Linked DNA regions of Homo sapiens: all the other regions are linked to region 1. Evidence: promoter capture Hi-C in 16 types of primary human blood cells and fetal thymus (Javierre and others, 2016). All regions are on one chromosome and are shown on one strand. The core of a region is centred on a gene start or on the middle of the fragment in contact, and the rest is flanking DNA. Distances in the headings are between cores, read along the strand shown.

What was found. Contacts are between HindIII fragments. The CHiCAGO score rates a contact against its expected background, and 5 or more counts as called.
Region 2: a contact is called between a fragment that was not itself captured here and the fragment with the promoter of C3orf49 in region 1, in 1 of 17 cell types (M2 macrophages). The highest score is 5.1, in M2 macrophages.
Region 3: a contact is called between a fragment that was not itself captured here and the fragment with the promoter of C3orf49 in region 1, in 4 of 17 cell types (monocytes, M0 macrophages, M1 macrophages and 1 more). The highest score is 10.3, in monocytes.
Region 4: a contact is called between a fragment that was not itself captured here and the fragment with the promoter of C3orf49 in region 1, in 7 of 17 cell types (M0 macrophages, M1 macrophages, M2 macrophages and 4 more). The highest score is 14.8, in M0 macrophages.
Region 5: a fragment that was not itself captured here is called in contact with the fragment with the promoter of C3orf49 in region 1 in 1 of 17 cell types (M1 macrophages); the score reaches 5.1 in M1 macrophages.

What each region holds. Positions count from the first base shown.
Region 1 is chr3:63,817,720-63,820,711 of GRCh38, forward strand. C3orf49 (chromosome 3 open reading frame 49) reads left to right here and starts at 1,580. Exons shown (of 7, transcript NM_001355236.2): 1 at 1,580-1,877. The coding sequence starts at 1,753. RefSeq lists a silencer at 927-1,046. The HindIII fragment of the contact is 1,193 bases long and covers 839-2,031 here.
Region 2 is chr3:63,308,164-63,311,155 of GRCh38, forward strand. The region is part of intron 2 of SYNPR (synaptoporin); the gene reads left to right. Among named protein-coding and RNA genes, the nearest start is that of SYNPR, 31 kb to the left of the region's middle. The HindIII fragment of the contact is 631 bases long and covers 1,300-1,930 here.
Region 3 is chr3:63,326,585-63,329,576 of GRCh38, forward strand. The region is part of intron 2 of SYNPR (synaptoporin); the gene reads left to right. Among named protein-coding and RNA genes, the nearest start is that of SYNPR, 50 kb to the left of the region's middle. The HindIII fragment of the contact is 4,441 bases long and covers 1-2,992 here.
Region 4 is chr3:63,370,664-63,373,655 of GRCh38, forward strand. All of the region lies in intron 2 of SYNPR (synaptoporin), which reads left to right. Among named protein-coding and RNA genes, the nearest start is that of SYNPR, 94 kb to the left of the region's middle. The HindIII fragment of the contact is 3,770 bases long and covers 1-2,992 here.
Region 5 is chr3:63,401,491-63,404,482 of GRCh38, forward strand. The region is part of intron 2 of SYNPR (synaptoporin); the gene reads left to right. Among named protein-coding and RNA genes, the nearest start is that of SYNPR, 120 kb to the left of the region's middle. The HindIII fragment of the contact is 2,942 bases long and covers 52-2,992 here.

The DNA of each region.
Region 1 (2,992 bases), core at 330-2,829:
CCTACAAGTTTTGTCACAGATGCCACAGCAGCAAGTGTTTCAGCCTATTACATACACACATACATGCAGACATGCACACACAGAGACATGTACATAGACACCCATGCACAAATAAAAAACAGCTGTCTTTCCTAGCATAAAATTCATCTCATTCATCTAGATAATTGATGAAATACAACAGAATTAAGGCAGGAGTGCCAATAATTGCATGAAAAATATTGCCCTGTTGCTAAAGAAAATATTCATGTATTCATTTATTCAAGCACCTATTATTTATTGTGCTCTGAGGATGCCAACAGATGAGGAAAAACAGACCAGGGAGGAGCATATGTCCATTTGGCCAAGGCATATTAGATATGCTCTACTTCAGCGTTTCTCAAATAAGGGACAGAGGAACATCTGCACCCACTCTCCTAGAATATGGATTCCTGGGTCTCATTCCCTGCTGAAGCGGAATTTCTATTTCACTTGAATTTTGCCATAAAACTATGGCTTGGGCACTATGAGTTGTCCCACTTTAGGGATGAGAAAACAAGCATGGGTGGGTTAAAATGAATTGGCCAAGGTCACATAGCTAAGCTAGAAATGAGAACTCATGCATAATTCCCAAATCCACTCTCTTAGCCCCTTAACATTATACACTTCATTCTAGACCATTTTAAAGCTCTTTTCCCCAGTACTGAAACATACAAGACCCTCACTACTCCAAGTGCAGTCTGGCATCATCAGCGTCACCTGCGGGTTTGTTAGGAGTGCAAATTCTTGGATCCCAGCCCAGATGTACTGTATCGAAATCTGCATCTTAAAAAGACCTCCAGGAAGTTTGTGTGCACTTGAAAGCTTGAGAAGTATGCTCCAGATTATTGATTAATGCAAACACAGAAAGCAGAGTAATTCTTGTAACTCCCAGAACCTTTCTAGAGGAGTTTTTCTTGTTAAGCATCTAGTTATTTGACTGAACAACTCAAACCGCGAGAGGGTAACAGGAATAAATCCTAGTGTCTGCTGCCACCTTGTGGTGAGAAGTTCCATCACAGGCAGAATTCGCTCTTCACCACGAAATAAATGGGGCAATGTTGGAAGGGAGGGGTGGATCAGGTCCTCAATTTAGCAATGTACTTTGAGAGACCACTGCAAAATTCCAAGATGTAATGAAAACCACCCTTGGGGTACATTTTGAGATGTCCAAACAACAACTGGCCTTGTCATATGTGTCCCACAGGACACAGAGAACATTCACCAGCTGTAACTGAGAGATCTAACAGAAGCTCAACTTGTGTTAATCAGCGTATCGTTGGTATTCCTATAGGTCCCTACCACTTCAGAGTTCAAATACGCACTTCTGAATGTGGTGGTCAATTAGTGTGTGGGTGTTTTTTGTTGTTGTTGTTGTTGTTTGATTTTTTTTTTCTATCCAAATGCCAGCATTGAGGCAATCAGATCATCATTTCTGTATTTGCCTTGTTCAAGAATCTGTGAAGTGTTCCACAAAGGTCCATGGAATTTCACACAGCTCTGTCAAATACATCACTGGTGACCTCTGTGAAGTTGTAAACAGGGCCAGTCCCACAAATAATGTCTCTAACACCTGGAAGGGAATAAGGGAAAGACTCTAAAAATTTCCTACATATTTTATTCCGAATAGCCCACACCTTGACAGTACATTCAGTCACTGGATGATTTTGTATTGAAGTCTGTAAGTTCAAGAACTAAAACAATCCAAAACGGCTACTACAGGTGAAGTTGAGAGCAATGGCCCAACCTCAGCTGTATCTACCAGAACCCTTTAAGATTGCCTACAGAAAAGTTGGACAGTGCCGAAGATTCCAGCAACTCAAGAAGAAAAATGGCTCATTCAAAAGGAAGGGGATAGAAAGGTAACAGAGATTCATTTCCTTTTCTGTCAAATGAGAGTCTTTGGGTTTGGCATAGTGGCATGTCCTTTTAAGCATTGCATTTAGGAATGAGGACTCTGGATGGATTGGCGGGGAGGGTACTGCGTTGGATCAAGAAATCTAGTGTGACAATGTAAGCTTCATTTTATGATCAGAAACATCTTAATTGTAACAGGGAAAACCTTTCCTTTCCACTCGAAATTAAGTTTCAATGTGGCATAGGAGACTAAAATAAGTTCTGATCCTATGTTGATATTTCAGCATCAGAATTTTGGACATCTCACATCCCGTGAAAATACTATTATTTTGAAAAGTCATTAGTGCATTCTTCGAAATAGGTCCACGATCAGTGCTTTCTTTCTCCTATCCCAGCAATTTGGGCTGCTGAAATATGTACTAATCACATTTCACTATGGACACATTGTTTAATGTAACGTTAAAACTGCCTTAGACTTGCTATTTTTTTGCCAATGACAAAACCATATAGACAGGTATGAAACATCCAAAATATAATATATTTTAATTTGGAAAGTCAGTGTGGTGATTTATTTTCCAATTTCTTTGGGCTTCTCTCTTACCAGGTCCATGGGCTATAGTTCAGACATGTAGAAGTGAGGTGTTTTAATGAGTCCTGGAAGCATCAAAGACCAAGCTTGTGAACTTCCATGGACAAAATAAAATACTGCAGAGATTTCCACTTTCAATGAAAAGTAGGCACTCCGGGGGAAGCAATACAACCAAATAAATTCAGTACCAACACAAAAATATTTAAAAACTTAAGAAGGGGAGGGTTCTGCTCATATCAGAAATTGCAGCAGTGTGTTCCTAGGCTCTGGAGCTAAATCACCTTTGTTAATTATGTTCTAGATAGATTGGGGATGAGAGTGGGGAGGATGGGAATGGGAAACACCTTCTAGAGATTCTGAGACCACTTAGAACTGGGCTTTTAACATGGGTGGTCTTCAAAATTCCTGAATCTCCTGAAACTGTATTTGCATTGTTCTGTGTCACAGTATGTGTATGTGTGTACATGTTTATAGTAGTAGAATCACTTAAAAATTAAATTATTATTAAAGGAGTCTCAGAGGGGTCTACGG
Region 2 (2,992 bases), core at 365-2,864, 510 kb before region 1:
TTTGCTTTGTAATTGTTGGAACTTTTTATTGTGGGCTCATTTATTGTGGGTGGTCTATAAGATATTCTAGGACAAGAAATATATCTAATTAATGGTGACGTCATCAACACAAAATATCAAACATACAGCGGATATTCAATGGATGTTCTCTTAAGCAAATTTTATTGACTTAGACATATTTTATTTTTTAACAACTCGATTGAGATATAATTGACATAATAAATTACTTAATTATCATTTCCAATCTTCTTCATTTCTATGTACAGATCCACATTTCATCTGAAATAATTTGCCTTCTGTTTGAGACTTTCTATAACATCTTTTGTAGTGTATGTCTGTTGGTGGTATATGTTTTCAGCCTTATTATGTCTGAAAAAGTCTATGTCATCTTTGTTTTCTAAAGAAATTTTTGTTGGGTATCAAGTTCTAGATTGCAAGGGGTTTTGCTTTAAGTATTTTAAAGATGTTGCTCCACTGTCTTGTTACTTGCACTACTTCTAACAAGAAATTTTCTGTAATTCTTATCTTTGTTCCTCTGTACATAATGTGTCTTTTCTCCCTGGGTGCATTTAAGATTTTCTTCTTCATCATATGCTTTGAACAATTTAACTATGATGTACTTTGGTATGGTTTTCTTCATGTTTATTGTGCCTGGAAATTCATTAGACTTCCTTGATCCATAGAATTATAGTTTTATAATTTTCATTGAATTATAAATTTTCATTAAATTATAAATTTTATAGTTTTCATCAAGTTTTGATCATTATTTTCCGAATTTCCTTTTTGCCCTCCCCTTCTATAGACTTCAGTTTCTCATAATTAGGCTTCTTGAATTGGTCCCACAGATCACTGATGCGCTGTTCATTTTTTAAATTCTTTATTCTATCTGTGTTTCATTTTGGATAGTTTCCTTTGCTATGTTTTCAAACTCACCAATCTTTTCTTCTACACTTCTAATCTGTTATTAATTCTACCAAATCTATTTTCAACTTCAGAAATTACAGTTTTTACCCCTAGAAGTTCAATTTGGGTTTTTGGTTGGTTGGTTGTTTTTATCTTCAAATGTCTCTACTCACATTCTTGAACATCTGTAATACACTTACAGCTGTTTTCATGTCCTTGTCTGCTAATGTTAACATCTATTTTGCTTCTGGATCAATTTCAATTGATTCTTCTCCTCATTGTGGGTTGTATTTTCCTGTGTGTTTGCATGTTTGCTCATCCTTGATTGGATGCCAGATACTTTGATTTTTACCTTGCTTGATTCTGGATGTTAAAAAATTTCTATGAATATTATTAAGCTTTATTCTGAGAATTAGTTAAATTATTTGGAAATTGTTCCATTTGTTCAGGTCTTACTTTTAATATTTGTTAAGTAGGATCAGAGAGGTGTTTAGTCTAGTGCTAATTACTCCCTGCTTCTGAGGCAAGACCCTTCTGGGTCTTCTACAAAATGCCTGTGAGTGACAGGTTTTCCATTCTGGCTGGTGACCCCAGCCCTGTGTGAGCATCAGATATTCCCCCATCTAATCTGTTGGGTGGTCCTCTCCTAGACACGGGCAGCCTTCTCACATGCATGTGCTGACCACTCCTATGCTGAATACTCAAGAAGCACCCTCTACACTGCTTACTCCAGAGTTCTCTCTGTGCTACACACTTTATCCTCATTTTTGTTCTATCCTGCAAACTACAGGGGTTCTAGTTTCCCAGACATGCATATGCATTGTGTGTATAACACAAATAAGTAAAGTGGCCATCTTCTGCCTGCTTTGTGGGTGTCTGAGACGGTATTTGCATGACAACAGACTGTATTTAAAGCCCTCTTCTGTGTACCCACTCTTCAGCCCTCAGGCTGAGTAAATATTTTCTCAAGCAGATACCCCATACCCAGCTCAGTTTAGGGAAGAGCTACCCCCTACCAAGCCCTGCAAGCTTCCTGCCTCCAACTCCCCACCCCAGAATCCCTCCCAACTGCCTCGTATACTCTTCTTTTTTCCATTGGTATAGTTGAGACAAAGTCATTCTCATCTCTCTCACCTTTGGTCTCCTTATTTGTTTTGTTTTCTTCTCAGAAGACAGCTTTGAGGAGGAAAGTAGACTCTTATTGTTTTTATGCAATTAAAAAAGTGAAGGATGCAAACCTCCCTACATATGAGGGAATTTATTGGCTTACATGATTGAGAAGTCCAAGGATATAACCGCCTTTAGGTTGGAAGTTCAAATCATAGTCATTAAAATTGACTGAGTTGAACCATATGTATTTAAAATTATTTGGCAATTTTGATCTTTAAAAATTGGAAATCTCATACTTTTAACCTCATCATTTTTTTCTCAGTCTTTCAGGTCTGCTTTCACCTGTGTAGCTTCCTATTTCATATAGATTCTTGCTGATGTTGTCAAGATGACTAGGGCAGCCTCAGCCTATGTCCTCTCAGATCCAAGGCCAGTGGGAAGAATATCTTTCCTTGCTCCAAGGCCTCAGAAAAATATTCATGCTGTCCCAGTGGCTCTGATGGCCTCTCATGTCCAACACAGAGCCAATCCTGAGGTTACTGTGGGGGCACTAGCTGGCTGAGACCTGGATATGAATTCCAGCCCTAGAACAAGGTGTGGAGCCCTATATGAACCACATGGCTTGAAAGTCAGGAGGGCTGGCTTCCCAGAAAGAAATCAGAAAGGAGACTCCTGGTGCATGCTCAGACCCTAAGAGTATCTTGCTTTGGATGCTTGGCTTAAAAACACTTATCCCAATGTGGTAGAGGGGATATTAATGAGCTGTTCCCTGTACTCTCAGTGTGTCCTGTTAACTTAAAACCACTCAGAAAACACATAGATGTCATTTATGTGGTATCCTTCCCACATTTTTCAAAAAATCAGATATGTCAAGTTGAATGTGTACTAGTGAATGAACAGATGCCAGGAGAAAGTGGTGGCTTTTTTTTGTTGTTGTTGTTTTGGTTAATAATCTATTTGCTTTCTGGGTGTTTTTAAT
Region 3 (2,992 bases), core at 256-2,755, 490 kb before region 1:
TCATTCCAGATCACTGAGTGTCCAGTCTTATCTAGAAGCCCAGAAGCCAGATGCTGGTCCTTGGTCTTCTATCTTCTCATAGTGATGGCCTGAAATCAGTGTCTTCTGCATTATTTATCAGTTTCTCTCTCTGTTAAATAGCAGCACCAAGAAAGGGAGTTGTGATTGCTGGTAACTTTGAAATCTTCAAAAGAAAGCCAAGTTCCTGGTAAGAATCAGACTTAGTAACTCATGGAAGTAATTGAAGGGTTGTGCTTGTACTCTTTCTAATTAAGTTTACATTGGGCAAATTTTAAGAAGTGTAATTTGGAAATGTTCTTAATTTCAATGGCCATCAGATTCATTTCCATGTTCCTAAATTTTACCAAAGCCAATAATAATACTTTCTCAATCCATTAAAAGACTACTTTCCTCATAGAAAAAAAAAAATGAACCACTGACACTTTACTTTTAGATTTCCTGTTTCATTTTGTTAGTGACTAGATATATATTAATTACTAACTATGTAAAAGTTGCAATCATTAGTGCAAATTGGGAGGGGAAATAGTTATTGGCAATGAAGGAAGTGTAAAGTAGAATGGAGATAAATATATACATTATAAAAGAAAATGTGATCCCACCAAAATAACCCAAATGAAAAGGACAATACCAAGTGACAGCAAGGATATAGAACAACTAGAACTTTTTTACACTGTTGGTAGGAGTGTAAATTGATATAACTTTGGATAACCTCAGCAGTACCTACTAAAGTGGGTATATGTATATGTTGAAATGAAATGTACATATATGTTATCATGTATATGTGGTACATGTAATACCTATTTATGTATTGTGTATGTGTGTTTATATCTAGCTATATGTATTATAAATGTATTATGTCCAAACAATTCCATTCTTAGGTATGTTTCCCAAAAGACACAAATAAGTGTGTTCATAACAGAATTTATAAAGCCACAAATGCTTATCAGTAGCATGATGAACAAATACATTTTGGTATATTTATGCATTTGACTTACAGTGATGAGAATGGACAAACTATGAGTTTACACAACATGAATGAATTTCACCCAAAAAAACTGAGCAAAAGAAACTAGATACAAAAGACAGTACAATATATAATTCAATTTGTGTTCAAAAATATTTTTAAAAAACACATTGTGGTATTAGAAGTTAGGACAGTAGCTAACTTTTGGTGGTTAGAGGTTAAGGAAGGGGCTTCTGGGGTTCCAATAATATATTATTTCTTGATCTAGGGATTGAGTAATAGGTGTGTTCACCCTCTGAAAATTCATTGAGCTGTTTTACACTTTTCTGCATGTATGTAATATATCAAGAAATTCACCTTAAAAAAGGCAATGTGTGAAAAGGATCAGGAGAGGCACAGATGGAAAAAGCAGGACAAAGTAAATATTGTTAGCAAATTAATTGGGCATAAATTGCAAAATATTATTTAAATGAGGAATGCCACATATGCTGAATTTAAAATACATTTTAGTGTCCCCATGATTAGGTTTTAACATGACTTTTAAGAAATTCTACAAATCTCACATCTACCACAAGACCAGTTATATAATTCAAGATGCTCAGTACTAAGCCATTAAAAAAAATTCAACACACTCTCAGAAAAACTGTGATATTCACAAAATGAGAGTGCCTTCTCAGGTTTCCCTTTATCCTCAGGTTGCAAAAGCTCAGAGCCTCATCTCCCTTTCTGGGAATGTCCAGAATCTTGTATTCAGGCTGCACATTTCCCCACAATTAGGTGACCTGTTTAGCATTGCTAGCCTGAGTCAGTCCATTTCATATCAAATGAGACTGGTCTATATTTAAAAGAAGGAATTCATAATGTACCAGTGTGATCTAGGAGTTTAATCACTGGGTTGAGTGCTCCAGGCCCCAGTTCCCCTAACATGCCTGTCTCCCTGGCTTTGACTCACAATCATGTGTTTTGTAAATGCACAAGGCAATGAACATAAAAGCAAAATTGCTGGTGACTAAGAATAGTAGCCAGCAGCCCTGGGAAGAATGCAGTGCTCTGGGGCTTAGCAGGAGAGCTGTGGATGCCTGGACACTGTGGACCTGAAAAATAAACATCCAATTGGAGAGTTGATGTGACCTCAGAGGAACCTGGGGGCCACAGCTCTGAATTCCCCAGAGCTGGTACTTGAATCTACTATGGCTAAATAAACTTGCCACATTTATTGGTGGCTTCTGTTTAAACACGAGTATTACAGTGGTGGCTTTATTTTCTTCTACCTTTTATTGATTATAATGTCCATGAGAGGTCAGGACCTGTTTTCTCAAATTGACCGCCACATCTCCAGCAGTTATTGAAAAAGCTGTACACTAGTCATCGCACAATATGTTTATTTGAATTATTTGAATACAATCTATAAGTCAAATCTAGCCTGAGAGTTATCTCAGCTATCACAGTTCTAAAAATAGGAGCAGTCTCCTAGTTCTTAGGTGGTATAAAAGTAATAACTATTATCAACGAGCCAAGAAAAACACACTTTCTCTCCACGTAAACAAATGAAAGAATTTGACTATTCAGCAAACTGCCTCTCAAGTGACAACATGGCATTGTTTAAATATTAAAAATAATATTTATGTTTAATACATTATTTTATTATGAGAGTTTATTATGTATCAGTCACAAAGCTGGTCACTTAACCTACATTATAGTTTAATTATCACAGCAATTTAATGGGGTAGCTACTCTTCTTAGCCCTATTTTACGGGTGGGAAAACTGAGACACAGAGAGGTAACTACCCCAAAGTGGCACAGCTGTTTAGTGGTTGAGCCAGGATTTGAACCCGGAATCTAAATCTAGTCCTTTAACCAACCTGCAATGCAAACCCTCACCCAAGACATCACAACACAGCAATTAAAATTGGAGAAAATGGAATGAGTTTGTTCCTAATCCAGTTAATTTCCCTGAATTAGAGAAAATCTCAAAATGTAATGTAATACATTTCTTGAGGAGAGGAC
Region 4 (2,992 bases), core at 184-2,683, 450 kb before region 1:
GGATCTCTCAGCACTTTGTGGGTTACAAAATAATATCTTTTACTCTTCTGCAATTTTGAGGTTGTTTAGATATCCAGACCCGCTGGAGACAGTAAGGAGTAATTTTATATTTTATGCTATCAGGTTAAACTTTGAATTCATAGGTGAGAACCTTGTAAAAATTTAGAGTACTGAGTTAGAGAAAGACCCCTATATAAACACAGTGGATTCATAAACCCAGAAAATATCCTCTAATCCCTATTGTTGAATTAGAATTTAAATATGGGGGAGAGCCAAGATGGCTGACTAGAAGGAGCTAGCGTGCACTGCTCTCACGGACAGAAGAAACAGTGGTGAGTAAACCCTAGACCTTTAACTGGAACATTCAGGTGGACACATTGCGATTCATCAAGGAAACAACCCACGAATGAAAGAGAGGAATGAGACAAGACAACCACCCACCTGGGATGGCATAGAGCCAGAGGAGGCCCCCATACCTCGGAAAAATGATGAGTGAGTGACAGTCCCCAGGAACCCACACTTCTACCATGGACTTTTGCAACCCTGGGCTCAGGAGATCCCCCTGTGAGCCCACCCCACAGGGGCCTCCAGACTGACACCGAGAGCTCTGTGGAGTCTGGTAAGAGAAGTCACTCATGCACACATGGAGTCCTAGGAGCCTTGGATCCCCAGGCATCCTGGCATTAGCCACTGCAGCTCTGGCAGTGGGGGAGGTCAGGCTCCCTTGCACGTCTCCGGGAAAGAGGCAAATTTCATGAGGCTGAGCAGTGATGAACTTCAGGTTTCACCTTGCAGGATAAGGCCCACTGGCCTGGGACTCCAGCCACCTACTGCCTGGGCTTTCAGACCAGTAGCAGCTCTGACTTCCCTGGGACGGAGCTCCCAGAGGGAGATGCAAGCCACTATTTTTGCTGCCCTGCAGCCCTAATTGCTGCTGCCCTCAGGTTCTAGAAGGTGCGTGGTGATTTGAGACTGATACAGCTCCCCAGTGCAGCACAGCTGCCCCACAGAGAAGTGGCCAGACTCTTTTCCACCTGAGTCCTCGTTCCAACTTCTCCTCACTGAGTGGGACCCTGGACCTCGGACTCTAGCACAACCACTCTGGCCCCACCTCAACACTTTAGTCGGAGGCGGTTCTACATTTCACTGAGGAGGAAATCACAGAGACAACCCACAGCCCGTCTGCCACTGGAACTGCAGTAGTACCACCCTAACCACCCTCAGGATGGGGAAGGAACAAAGGACCTGGTTGCTATGCTGGCATTTCCCACACACAACAGCCACCATGCAGAGAGGAGCCCAGTCTCTCTTCCCTGCAAGCCCTCAATCCCCACTCTTCACCAGACTGAGCCCCCGGCTTGGGACCACAGAACAGCCATCCCATGCATGGCTGAGTATATCCACAGGTAGAGGCTCTATGTTTCCCTGGAAAAGGGATCTTAGAGTGACCAACAGCCCCTCTGCCACTGCCACGACAGTGGTTCTGCCACTGCTGCCCTCAGTCTGAGAAAAAACAAAAACACATAAAAACAAAGACTATGTCCAGCATGACACAGTCACCATAGACAAGAGTCCAGTCACTCCTCCCTGTGAGCCTTCCACCCCCTGCTTCTCACCAAGTGAAGGCCCCAGCTTGAGCCAGCAGCACAGCCACCCCATCCCTGGCTGAACATTTCCAGTAGCAATGGCTCTGTGTATCTCTGAGAGGGAGCTCCCAGAGGCAACTGAAAGCCCCTCTGCCACTGCCACTGCAGCGATACTGCCTTTGCTGCCCCTGGATTGGGGAAGTAGCAAAGACACTGGGTGCTTTAACCATGACTCCAGCAAGCTGCAGTTGTCCTAAGGAGAGAGGCCAGTCTGTTTCCCCCATCCCCCTTTCCCCCACAACCCTCACTGGTCACAAGGCACAGCTGCCCCTGGGTTGGGCCCACAGCACAGCAGTTCCACCCCAGGCTGATCACACTGATTAATAGCAGCTCTGAATCTCTCTGGGATAGAGCCCCATGAGATAGGTGAAAAGTCCTCTGCCACAACCACTGCCAAGATCCCTTCCCCTGCTGCCTCCAAGCTGGGGTGAAAACATAAAGCCTGAGCTCGCCCCAGGGCTGCAAAGTGCAGCCCAGAAGAGTCAAGTAAAGATCTGCAGCTAGCACTTGAGTGGGAGAGGAGCCCACACTCTCAGAGCACTGAGAAAGAGTACAGCTGCATTCATGAGGAAATATAGAGGAGCCATGTGGCTGAACAAGAGCCTACCAACTGGCCATTTAGCTTATCTACTGGATCACAGCCCAAACTTCAACACCAAAAATCCTTTGATAATGTACTCCCTTGTGAAACCAAGGGTGAGAACTCAGCTACAAACCCCCTGCAAAAACCCCCAGCCCTCTAAAAACATCCAGAAAAGAAGTCTACTGGCTACTCAAATTACACCATAGTTAAAGGAAATCATCCCACCATAGATGAGAAAGAATCAGTGCAATAACTCTGGCAGCTCAAAAAGCCAGAGTGTCTTCTAATCCCAAAAGACCACACTAGTTCCCCAGCAAGGGTACTTAGCCAGGCTGAAATGGCTGAAATGACAGAAATAGAATGCAGAATATGGATAGGAATAAAGATTATTGATATTCAGAAGAAAGTTAAAACTTAATTCAAGGAATCTAAGGATTACAATAAAATGATATAAAAGCTGATAGACAAAACAGCCATCATAAGAAAGAACCAAACTGATCTGATACAGCTGAAAAACACACCACAAAAATTTCATAATGCAATCACAAGTATTAACAGCAAAATACACCAAGCTGAGGAAACAATCTCAGAGCTTGAAGACTTGCTCTCCAGACTAACTCAGTCAGAGAAAAATAAAGAAAAAATAATTTTAAAAAATGAACAGAACCTCTGAGAATGATGGGATTACGTAAAAAGATCAAATTTATGACTCATTGGTAACGTTGAAAGTGATGGGAAGAAAGCAGGCAACTTGGAAAACATG
Region 5 (2,992 bases), core at 273-2,772, 420 kb before region 1:
CATGCTGTTCCTAAGGACAAAGAATGAGAAGGTAGGGAGAAAACACAGAAAAGCTTCGTTATCTGCACACTGGCTGCCCTGGGAGGTCTGTGCAGTTTTGAATGGCATTAGCTGAACTTTTTAGAGTCGTGTGTCTAGCCCAGAGCAGAAAATGAACTATGGAATCAGGTTAATGACAGAAAAAAAAGACAGAGCTATTCTCTCATGAAGAGATGGCATATACCTGGTACTGTGCCTGTATTCTTGATGGACATCACTAGTTGATTGTACTTTTTTGCAGAGCATGAATGTGGCCTTGGGAATCCTTGTGGGAATCAAAATTGTGCTCCAAACAGCTGCTACCAATCTAATGAAGTGGTAGTGCAGGATGAACCCAATTTGTCATCCCTGGGCTCAGTATCTCTGAAAGTTGAGAAACATGAGGCCAGTAGGAGATAAAGAAAGCAATGTCTTCTGCCAGAGAGACACCTAGAGAACAAAGTCTTCTCCAGTTTGCTGATCCTAAGAGAGATGCATTTCTCTCTCAAGACAAATAGGCCCCTGCTGTTCATCCTTAATTTCATATACTCAAGCCTACATGCTCATAAATGAAGAGCAATGTTGCAGAGGAAGGAGGCCCTGCAGCCAGAAGGAGGAAGGAGAGGTTTGAAGAAGACACTTTCTAGATCAGCCATTATTGACATTTTGGGCTGGATAATTCTTCATTATGGGGCTGTTCTGTGCACTCTGGGATGTTTAGCAGCATCCCGGGCCTCTAAACATGAGGAGCGCTCCCTGCAAAGTGGTGACCATCAGAAATGTCTCCAGGCTTTGTCAGATGTCCCTGGGGCCTGGGGCTAAGGGTAGAACGGGGAGAGGCAGAATCTCCCCCAGTTGAGAACCACTGCTCTAAATGATAAAAATCAGAGGATAGAAATTCAATATGAATTCTAGTTCTTATCCCAAAAGCAAGTTAGTATTTTATAATCCAGGGTCTGTGATGACAAGAACCATAAAGGATTCTGGAAACACTGTCCTTTTGCTATTTCATCGGGATTGACCCCTCTGTATGACAAAAACTTAAGAGGAAAAAAGGCCAGCCTATTTGTGACAGTGGGCATAGCTAGGATGACTCCAAGATGAAGGAAGCAGTGGGAGTGTGCTTTGTGGCCATTCACTGAAGGAGAGGAAAAGAGGTGAATCCAGAGGCCTAATCCAGGCCCATCTTGCAAACCTTTGCTTTAGCTGTTCCCTCTGCCTGGAACTCTTTTCGTTTACTGCTATATCCCCAGTTCCTGGTACAGAGTGGCAGCTGGAGGAATATTTGTTGCACAAATAAATAAAGCATAGCGCACTTGACATAGTCATTGCAAGTGTGATGGTGATGCAAGTGTGGAAGTACCAGGTGCTGTGGGGGCACACAGGATGGAGAACTAAACTTTTCTGAAACATGAAGATTCTCTAGAGAAAATGTCCTGGAACACTAAGGAAGCCTTTCTAGAGATAACGATCTCAAATATGAGACCAAGGGGCTCTGGACAGGAGAAGAGACCATACAGTAAACATTAACAGAGAGAATGTTTATATATATTATTGTGTCAATAGTTTACTTCTTCCCGAGTAACATAATTATATATCCACATTCTGCCATTAATTCTGTAGTTCCTCCCACTAAAGCGTATTTTCTTGCATCTTGTCTTTGTATTCAACCATATAACATGCTCTGGCTGATTGAAAGAGGTAGAAGTAAAAGTGTTATCAGTTCCTAGTCTGGACTATGAGTTTGCCTAAATGAATTGCCTAAATATTGCATAAATGGATTTGAAAAGAACATTAAATAATAGAGTCCACGAAGCCTTGGTTGAGTGCTGTGTTACTGCATTACTGTGTTACTGCTTTTATATAAATATATATATATGTACATACATATATATACACACACACACACATTCTCATACGTATGTATACACATACACACACACACACACACACACACACACATAGAGAGAGAGGATGAGACAGAGGCATATTTAATCCTCACAATAACCCCACAAAGTGGGTACATTTATTGGATACCATCCTCATTTAACAGATGAGACAGCACAGGAACCCAGAAGCTAAGCTAATGTGCTCTAGGTCATACTTGCAGTATGGAGAGCTGAAACACGAAATTGGAGGTTCTAGCCTCAGGGCCTACACCCCTCAACCATCACAATAGTGAAAGAAGACAGAGGTGTAGCATAGTCAAAGCCACAGAGGTGAGAGAGAACATGATGGGGGAGCTGGAAGGAGACCAGGATGTAACCTAAGAGAGAACAAGGAAGAGGGTAGCAAATGATGAAGTAAGCCAGAGAGAAAGGAGCTGGATCAAGGGAAGCCTCATCAAAAAACTGTGCACTGAGAGGCTCTGGGAGCCATCCTTGATCGACCACAACACCTACCTTGGATGTAAACATCAGCATTCCTATCACATGTAGGGTGGATTTAATTTCATATGACTGGGTTCAATTTATCAGTTGATAATATTTAGAAAGGTGTTCATGTTAGCTGCCCTACCTCCAACCACCATTTACTAGAGAACAAAAACACTGAGCCCAGGTGTTAGGATCCTGATTTGTTTTATGTTTTTAAGAGAAGGCAACAGAGCATTCGTTTTTATCCTGGAATAGATGGTTTGTCCAGCTGTAGATGCTGTAGAAAGGAAGCTGAATGTTAATTAGATGTCAACAATAATTATGGTGATTACGTTTTTTGAATAGCTATTGGGAATAGCTGGATCCACATCTAGAATGTGATGTGAATGATGTTTTAACAGTTTTTAAAAGAAGAGAGCAGCCTGTTACTAAGGAAATTACAGTGAATAGAATTATAGTGAAATAGATTTCTTAACAAAGAACTACAACAATGATAATAGTCTCACATGAATTATGTAGTATATATGAAGGAAAATCATAAAAAATGTTTTTCAGACAAGATCCCTTATTTAAAAGAAAATCAATTATCAATTATCTTA